Linked DNA regions of Homo sapiens: regions 1 and 3 are each linked to region 2. Evidence: promoter capture Hi-C in 16 types of primary human blood cells and fetal thymus (Javierre and others, 2016). All regions are on one chromosome and are shown on one strand. The core of a region is centred on a gene start or on the middle of the fragment in contact, and the rest is flanking DNA. Distances in the headings are between cores, read along the strand shown. Region 1 overlaps PLGRKT (plasminogen receptor with a C-terminal lysine). Region 2 holds the start of INSL6 (insulin like 6). Region 3 overlaps JAK2 (Janus kinase 2).

The links. Contacts are between HindIII fragments. The CHiCAGO score rates a contact against its expected background, and 5 or more counts as called.
Region 1: a fragment that was not itself captured here is called in contact with the fragment with the promoter of INSL6 in region 2 in 1 of 17 cell types (non-activated CD4 T cells); the score reaches 5.2 in non-activated CD4 T cells.
Region 3: a fragment that was not itself captured here is called in contact with the fragment with the promoter of INSL6 in region 2 in 1 of 17 cell types (endothelial precursors); the score reaches 5.0 in endothelial precursors.

What each region holds. Positions count from the first base shown.
Region 1 is chr9:5,376,677-5,379,641 of GRCh38, forward strand. All of the region lies in intron 3 of PLGRKT (plasminogen receptor with a C-terminal lysine), which reads right to left. Among named protein-coding and RNA genes, the nearest start is that of RLN1, 38 kb to the left of the region's middle. The HindIII fragment of the contact is 1,044 bases long and covers 1,149-2,192 here.
Region 2 is chr9:5,183,970-5,187,005 of GRCh38, forward strand. It overlaps INSL6 (insulin like 6), which reads right to left and starts at 1,670. Exons shown (of 2, transcript NM_007179.3): 1 at 1,345-1,670. The coding sequence starts at 1,633. The HindIII fragment of the contact is 2,408 bases long and covers 1-2,052 here.
Region 3 is chr9:4,988,184-4,991,210 of GRCh38, forward strand. The region is part of intron 2 of JAK2 (Janus kinase 2); the gene reads left to right. Among named protein-coding and RNA genes, the nearest start is that of JAK2, 4.4 kb to the left of the region's middle. The HindIII fragment of the contact is 718 bases long and covers 1,027-1,744 here.

The DNA.
Region 1 (2,965 bases), core at 421-2,920, 190 kb after region 2:
TCCTGATGTGGAAAATTCTGTAAGGTATTGTTAAATGGAAAAAGCAAGGTACAGAAAGGGTATAGTAAGCTACCTTTTGTCATTTCTGTATATACATACACACATACATACATATAATCATATTCCAATATGCCTAACTATGTATAGACTATCTTTGAAAGACTATTCAAGAAACTAGGAATGGATGTATCTGAGGAGGTGAACCAGGTGGCTGGGGACAGGGGTAAGAGGAAGTTTTCAATATATACCTTGTTGTTCTTTTAGAATTTTGATTCATGTACACATATTAACTATTCAAAAATTTATAATTTTTATAAAGAAATAAAATCCCTTAAGCCTTCATTTCAGAATGAATCTGTACTCAGGCTGCCTGGGAAGTTAGAGATCTGTTTCCCTGTCCAATTGCAGGGCAGTGGATAAGGAGGTAATGAAATACAACAAAATATCCTGCAACCGTTACAATGACTTTCCTACATTGTGAAGGCTAGCCACAGTGCTGGAAAGTGCTTAGACACACTGTCAAGTGCAAAAAGCATAATATAAAATTCTTTTAGAGAGGATAACAAGTAAACTAAAAAAAAAAAGATAGCACAGAGAAAAAAACTGAAATATTAAACAAGGCTGTTTTGAAATAATAGTACTATGGTAATCTTTTCTTCTTTCCATATAAATGTATTATATAATCTTTTATTTATTAGTTCACTCATTATACTAAAAAATACATTAAAAAGGAAAAATGTAAGCAGGGATTACTGGGTAGTGACATAAGAGACTATTCATTTTTTTCTCCTTTGTATTTATCTATATAAAAATAAGCTAACAATATTTTTTAAAAGAATATCTCCATAATGGTGCTGGAAAGCAAGAACATTTTCAGAAATGTTGAGAAATTTCTGAAAGAGAGAAAGCAGATGGGATCAAAATGATGGTAAAACCTGTAGGAGTTTCTGTAGAAGAAACTACAACCTAAAGCAGACTCTAGGGAGGACTATTCTGCCTATAAGAATGCCGGAGAAGCTCCAAGCTTGGAAATAATTTAATACCTACCCACGTAACAACAAATGGTGCCCCTCCATTCCAATACACACAGAGGTGGCAGTGTTTGTCCCCAGCCAAATTTTCTCCAAAGTGGCAAATCTCTTGGGGGAAGCTTTTATTCTAGGGGATGGGGTCTGAAAGAGAAGAGCTGATATCGAGGCAATTCTGCACTTCGACAGCAGACAAGAAAGAAAGAAAAAATAGAAGGCAGTACCACTGAGACCTGAAGTATGACACCATGCTTCGTCCCAGAGTAAACCTTTGTTCTCTGGCAATTGTGGGGTTCTTCAGCCTGCTTCTTGCTCATCCACCCTAAAGGGAAGCTCTTGTGTTGGCACATGTTGCACATTCCAAAAGGCCCACAGACTGCACAGAAAATCCATGCCAGCTCCTCAAGATAGTCAACCTGGTTCTTCATCATACATTTGAACAGGCAACCAAGGGCTACCAGACATTTGAGGGAAACCAACAGCGTAATAGATAAGGATAAAGGTGCATAAAGAGAACATCTGGAACGGGAGATAATAAAGGTAATGCAGAACAGAAGAAAAGAATGCAGCCCAAGCGATGAGAACCTTCCTTCCCTATTCCCAGATGTATCTCTGAAGGGAGACACATGCCCCTCATGTGCCAGCATGTTTTCTCTATCTGGCTTGCAGTTTTAGCTCCTGCTGAGGGAGTCCAACAGAAACTGTGATAACACCGCACACAATATGAATGAATCTCATAATCCTAATGTTGAACAAAAGAACCCAGACACAGAAAAGGATAAACCAGAAGTAAAAAGATCAAAATTAGACAAAAAACTAGCCCATGCTCTTGGAAGTCAGGATAGTGGCTATCCTTAAGTGGGGTTAGTGACTGCAAGGGGTTGGGATGCAGCTTAAGGAATATGTTCAGTCTGTGTAAATTAATTGAGTTGTACACTTTAACATTGATAAAAGGCATATATAATTAATGAAGAAGATAGAAGAGTTAAGAATTTTTTATAAATCAGACAAAACATTAAATGACATGAAGCAAAACTGTTGGGAATACAAAAAAAAATTACAAATTATAAATAATAATGGTAGGATTTAACCATCTCTTTCAGAAATATACAGGTTAAATTGGAAAAATGTAGTGATATTAAGGATTAAGCAATTAAATCAACAAGCTTAATATGTGTGTATCTGTATAGCCAATAAATATTTTTAAATTCTTTATAAATATTTAGGGAACATTGTATTATGCCACAATAAAACATCCCAATAAATTCATGAAAGTTGAAATCACATAGGCCATATTTTTTTAACCATAGTACAGTAAAAGTATAAATAAATACAACTAGATAATGATTGCCTAGCTTTAAAACTCAAGAAAATAAACTGAACAAACTATTAGAATCAACAAGATTCTAATCAGAATCAGCAGAATGGTTGAATATATAATCAACACACAAACATTACAGATTTTCTATATGCCAAAATCCATTAATAGTTATTCACAATATTGTAAATATAATACCCAGGAAGAAATACTAATCAAAATCTGATCAGAAATTACTTTAGTGAACTTTACAAGCTCATTGTAAGATTTCCTTGGAGAGGAAAATATACAAAAAAAGAAAACTTTGAAAATTGTCTTACCTGCCAGACATATAAAGTTACTACAGAGATGTGCTGTTCAACATGGTAGCCACTAGCCATACTGAATATTTACATTAAGATTAATTAAAATTAACAATTTAGTTTCTCAGAGGCACTAGTCACATTTCCAGTGTTCAACAGCCACATGTGAGTGGATATGTGTGTGTGTGTGTGTACACAAATACATAAATATAAACTGATACTTTCAGCCTATCATATTTATATATATGATTTAACAAATAATAGTAAAGAAAATCTACAAGCCAATAAAGTTAACCCAATAGAAAAAGGGCATTTCA
Region 2 (3,036 bases), core at 420-2,919:
TAAAGTAAAAGTAGAAGACTGGGGAGAGACACTTCCTTCATTATAACAGAAGGACAAGGTGAGGTTTGTATGTGGGTTAGTTTGATGGGTCGGTTTGAAAATGATCATGAATCAGTCTCATGGTTTCTGTCTTTAAAAGTTTTTATTCTTTCAGCAACAGTGACTTTATAAATTCTATTCATTCATTCCAAAAAAGCTAATGAGTGCCTACAATGTGCATTGTTTGACTTTTTTCAGTCCTCTACATTAGGGTCTCTTTTTGGCATGATAGTTTACTCATTTCCTTAATTTCAGAAATCTTCACTTTTACAAGATTTGTCCAAATCAAATCAACTGAATTACTGTAAAAGGCAGTAATCTTCTTCCTATGGATACACTATAAACAAAGTGCAATTTCTTTTAAAATGACAAATCATACTGGGACTAAAATGTCTTAGTCACAAAATGTAAAAACATAGTAAGATATACCAATGAATCTGGAACAAGAATATCCTTCCTGCAGACTGCTTGAAAGCATCAAGTATAAATTCAGCGCATATTAAACACATGCGATGTGCTAGGCCATCTGCTAAGCATTTCAGACAAAAATATGCATGAAATAGTCCCTATAATACAGTATGGTATATAGGGCTGACTTTATGGGACTGAAACCTATGTAGTCACACAGGCCTTGCATTTGGTTTAAATGTTCCTTTGTTGTTCTGAATAAATTTACCTTTGAAACTTTAAGTGAATGAAATACAAGTACGTAAACTCTTAAATGAAGCCTGATAGGAGAACGGACCAGGCCTATCTCCTGGTACGTGACCAGGGGATATGGACAAGTAAGGAAAACAGTTTTATATTTTACTACCTTTATTTTCATGGCCCTTTCCTGCTTTTTTGAACAAGGTACTCTGCATTTTTATCTTCTACAAGGTTGGGCTGATTCTGTAGCCAATGACGACAGTCAAATACAACTATGTGCTAGATACTGTGGTAGAAAGGACAATGGAGCCATTGGCCATGAAAAGGTCAATGATGACTTCACAGGGAAAATGATACTTAAGTTGGGCTTTGAAGGACAAAAAGGAGTTTGCCAGATGACTGGCACTCCAGAAAAGAACAACATTCTTACATAAATATGTAGACTTACAAGTGTACATTTATTTCCTCCAAGTTAAAAAAAAAAGCGCTTCATTGAAGTTTTGTATATTTTCAATACACTGTTTTTTACAATTTTTTAAAGAGCTGTGTACTAGGCACAAATTCCACTTCCTGGGGAAGCTCACCTTCTGGCAGAGCAAATGCAGGAATAAGAAATATACAGAGGTGAACAAACATGCCTTCGGTTTCGATTTTTACCTGGGTTTGTGCCTCTTCCCCGGGCCGGGGAAGCGGTTTGCGGGCTTTCGAACTGGTATGGGCTGTAGGCTTCGACCTTCTCCGAGGCCTGTGCAATCAACCGTGAGAAAGGGGTTTCCTCCTCGAAACGGAACTGGCTCCAGTTGGCATGGCCGCAGAGTTTTTCTATTTCTTTCACCAAGTACCTGCCGCACAGCTTCCTGGCACTGCTGATGTCGCTCAGTTCACGAGAAAACCGAACCAGCAGGAGTCCAAGCCACAGCAGGGACAAGCGGAGGAGCCGCGGCATCCCTGTGACCCCAGGCTAGTCCTCCGCGTTGTGCAATGGCGGTCGGCCGGACCCTGCTCCCTGTCTGCGCCTGCGCCAGGCCGAGCGGCGCGCACAAACACTGCGGAATTCCGAGCGCGTGGGGGCGTCGCCAGAACTTCAAGGGAAGGCGCGCGCCGGCTGCGTCAAGGCTTTCCCGCCAGCTCAGGGGTCTCAGGTGGTCGAAGGTAGCAGGCCCTGGCTCCTAAAATGAAAGCCAAAAATCCCCTCACTACCCCGCCACCCCCTAGTTTGATTCATTTTTCTTTCCTTCCTCAATGGGAGATTCCTCACCAAGCGTGAGAACATAGGATCCCTGTTACCTGATAACGTAGGTTAAAAAGTGTTGCTCCCTCCACCTGGAATGCGTTTCTCGTTCTTGTTTGCCAGGTTGTTAATAAAGCTTCGTCTCCCTCACAGAAACCCCCTGTCATCTCTTTCACGGTGTTAATCGACCTGTTTCCATTTGTGGGCGTGTAACCTCTTTCCTGAGACCCCCGCTTCATGAAGGCAAGGGCCTGCGTCTGTTCTTGCTTTCCATCGTACCCCGGGATCTGGCATTTAGCTGGCAATCAAATATGTGGTGAAACGTTTAAGTGTTGCATATGGCCATGTGCGTTTAGTCAGGTTCAAAGCTTCTTCAGAAAAATCCTACTGGTTCACAGGGAGGCATGGGCCTTAGCCTCAATCTCCAGAAAAAAGAAGTAGGGACGCTGTCTTGAGGTACCTGGGATGGAAATCTGGTTCTTTCGGTTAGATAATGTAGAGGATTGTGTATTACCAAATTAACTTGTGACAGGGACCCCTAGAGGATTTGCCTTGTAAGAATAACAGCATGCAGCATGAAATGCTCATTTAGGTGAGATAATTTTGCTCAGTTAGGAGGGAAGGGGCAGGGAAGCGAAGCGCAATCGGCATAGGTAGCTTTATCATTTTAAATGAAGTTCTGTGTTACTAGTGTGTTGGCGTGGAAGGATGTACTATCGGCCACAAGAGGGCATTCGGTGGCTGTCTCAGGAATAAGGTTCAGGATGCTGAAGCCACAGGTGCAAGCTTATCAGTGATCTCACCATTTCCCTATACAATTTTATTTTTTTCTCCCTTTCTTTTCTGTCTTCTGACTCTATGTCTTTTTCTTAATTTTCCGTTTCCCTATCTTTTCCCTGCTTCCCAGTGGCATCCATGAATGCTGTTAAATTAACTGCCAATTGGATTTTTTAAATGGTTGATATAATATAGATTAGTAAAATTTAATCACCTTCCTTAAAAAATAACTTATGTCCAAACTATAGTGGGCCATGAGTCCTAGTCAGAACTTTATCAGGTAAGGTTTTTGAGAACGGAAAATATTAATCATACTGAGATGAATGTAAGCCTTGTGGTAA
Region 3 (3,027 bases), core at 136-2,635, 200 kb before region 2:
CTCTTAGCTCCCAGTTTCCCAAACTGTGTGCCAAGGTGCCCAGAGCACCTCAGGCTTGAACTTGTGTTTTGAGTTGGTTCATGGTTTCAATATTAGATACCTACACCCGTTTCTACAATGTCATGTCTTTGTAAAGATGTATTTTCAGAGGTTGCTCCGATAAAAAGCAACTACTACATGAAAATGAATGTAGAACAGGAAATGACAGTGTGGTATTGTCCAATTTGATTCTAAGGTTTGATAAGTTCTACAGTGCTCTACACTAAGTTGTAAGGACATAACTACTAAGTAAGTTGTTCAAACCTATTTCTTTTGGCCTGGGGGTGTCGTGAAAAATTTGCTAAGACTCAGAGCTCCCTGAATGGGTTTGGAAACCTCTGCCTTAGCTTTTAGTTTGCTTTTCTGATAAAATTATTGATATAAAGCTAGTACCAGCTGATCATGGCTTAATATATTTCCTCTCCTATGTAATATGTTTATAACTTCTGCCCAGTTCTTTCATTTTAAAACTAATCCTATTGCTAACTTGTTGTACTAGTCACTTCCTGGTTTTTCCTGTACTGGTCTTCTGCTTCTACTTCTGTTCATCTCCTTAAACTCCGAATGCCCCAAGTGAAAGTTACCATTTTCTACCCCTTAATTTTCTTCTAATCATGTAGGCTTTAAATTAGGCATCATCTTTAAACTACTTCTTTCATTTACCTCTTATTCCCATTCAAAATGTCCATATTTCCTTTCTTTCTCATATCTCTGCTTTCCCTCCTTTACTGTGTGAATCCCAGGACACATTTCCTGAGCCTAGAATATTGAAAGTCATTTGAACTTCTGAGAATTCAGTGTCCCTTCCTTCTGTTTATCCTCAATAGAGATTCCACTCTAATACTCCTTATTATAGCATTCCCTTGCCCCAAAACCTTCAGTGGCTTACCATTTTCTACTTATTAAATTTTCCTGACTTTTAAGATAGTCTATTATCAATCCCTGCCCTATTTATTTAGTCTTTTGTCTAAGGATCTCTAGTCCTTAAGCTTGTAAGCTGATTTCCACACTTTCTAATAATAAGCTATGCTTCTTCTATCCTTTAATTTTTGCCCATGTTCTCCATCCCTCTTTTTTTTCCTCTATTTCTGTAGCTCTTTAGTCTTAGAACATTTTCACATGGTTTAATTATATGCCATGCTTTAGTTGTTTGATAGTTATTTCCCTAGTGTTAGCCATATCTTTTCAAGTTGATTGTGTATTCTTTGAGGAGCAGTACCTTAGATTAAAAAAAAACCACAACACACAGTGGAGAGCACATGGGCAGCATTCAAGAAATACATGTTGATTGTGTGATAAGGAACTGTAGTCACCAAACAAATATTTGTTAATACTTGCAATGTAAAAGGTACTTGGCTGTATTCAAAAGAGAAATAAAGAAATATAAAATAGGCTCCTTTCCCTAAGGACTTACAGTATAATTGGGCAGATAAGCTAAATAATAAAAGTTACAGATATTTAAGACCACTTGAGTTGAGCAGAGATTTTGCATAATAGGAAGGAACTGGTAGAGGGGGTAAGCAAAGGCAAAATATGTATATATGTATGATATGTTCAGAGAGCAGTACATAAATAACTTGACTGAAATGAAGATTTGTGTGAAAGAGTAGTAAGAAATTGTGTTAAAAATGTAGTTGGAATTTGATTATGGATGTCTTTAAATGCTAGGATGAGAAGAATGTACTTTGACCTGTAGATATGGAGAAGCTTTAAAAGTTTTGAATTGAGAAAGAGTTTGCTGAAATAAGTATTTTAGGAAAATCAAAGCAGCACCAGTGCTAGGTCTCATATGAATTGGAAAGAGAATGGTAGAAAGAGGTAGGAAAATAATTGAGCCCTGAAGTAATGAGGACTTAGAAATAAGTCAGATTGCAGAGATGTCACAAGACATTATTATGGATTGGATAAGAAGGGAGAATGGAGGGGAGAAGAGTGATTAAAGATTACCTTACCTTGAAGGTTTGCTTTTCAGTGACGGAGGAAATCAAAGAGTGTTGACTCTCCAAGACATCTTAGAACATCTAAGTCTATATGTTTTGTATATTAGGACTCAGACCAGAGAGATTTAAAAATGTGTCCAAAGTTACTCAGCTAGTTAATGACAAAGAAACTGCCGTTTGATTAATGGCAGTTACTAACAAAAATAGTTATGGCAGTGTTAGTAGCTGGTAGAGGGGATGTAGACAGTTGAGCGTATATTGTGGATATGTTGAGTTTGCGGTGGCCGTGGGATGGGCAAGTGAAAATTGATAGCATACAGTGGGACATATGACTAGAATTTGTTAGCGAAGTTAAGGCTGGTGCTGTGGTACTTAAGAGAAAAGAGTGGGATTGCCCATAATTAGCGGGTGGGTGAAAGGAGAGGAATGGGTAAAGGAGACAAAGAAAAAAACAGTATGAGAGGCAAATTAGTGGATAGGTTAGGAGGCGGAATGATCAACATGTTGATCATTGGCAAGAAATGAGAAGAATCAGATCCAAAAAAAGGTCTTAAAAAGATGTATTCGTGTTTTTCCTAATAAGAAATCTATAAAAACAGAAGAAAATTGCTTATACTTTCCCTACGTGGAAATAACCACTGTTAATATTTTGTTCTCTCCGGTTTAACAAAAGACCTTTGGATTTGACAGTTGGGTGATCAGTGGAGACTTTTCCAAAGCTCTCCATCACTAGGACTAAGGATGAGAATTTTAGGCATAATAAAACCTAGGAGATATTTTTCAACAGATTGTCATTCGTCTGTATCGTCTTATATATCACACTGTCCAGGTACTATTCTTCCTGTGTGCATTGGTTCTGTGTTTTTTTCTGAATGATAGAAGGTTAGACAAGCCATCTCTGGGTGCTTTTGTGCTGGTAAAATTTGAATAAAGTGATAAAATATTTGTTTCTAAAAGGAAGGAGAAATTCTTGGTCGATAACTTATAAATCTGAGGGTTGAATGATTGATGAAATTAGGGGTACTGGAAAGAACAAAGAGAAGCATTA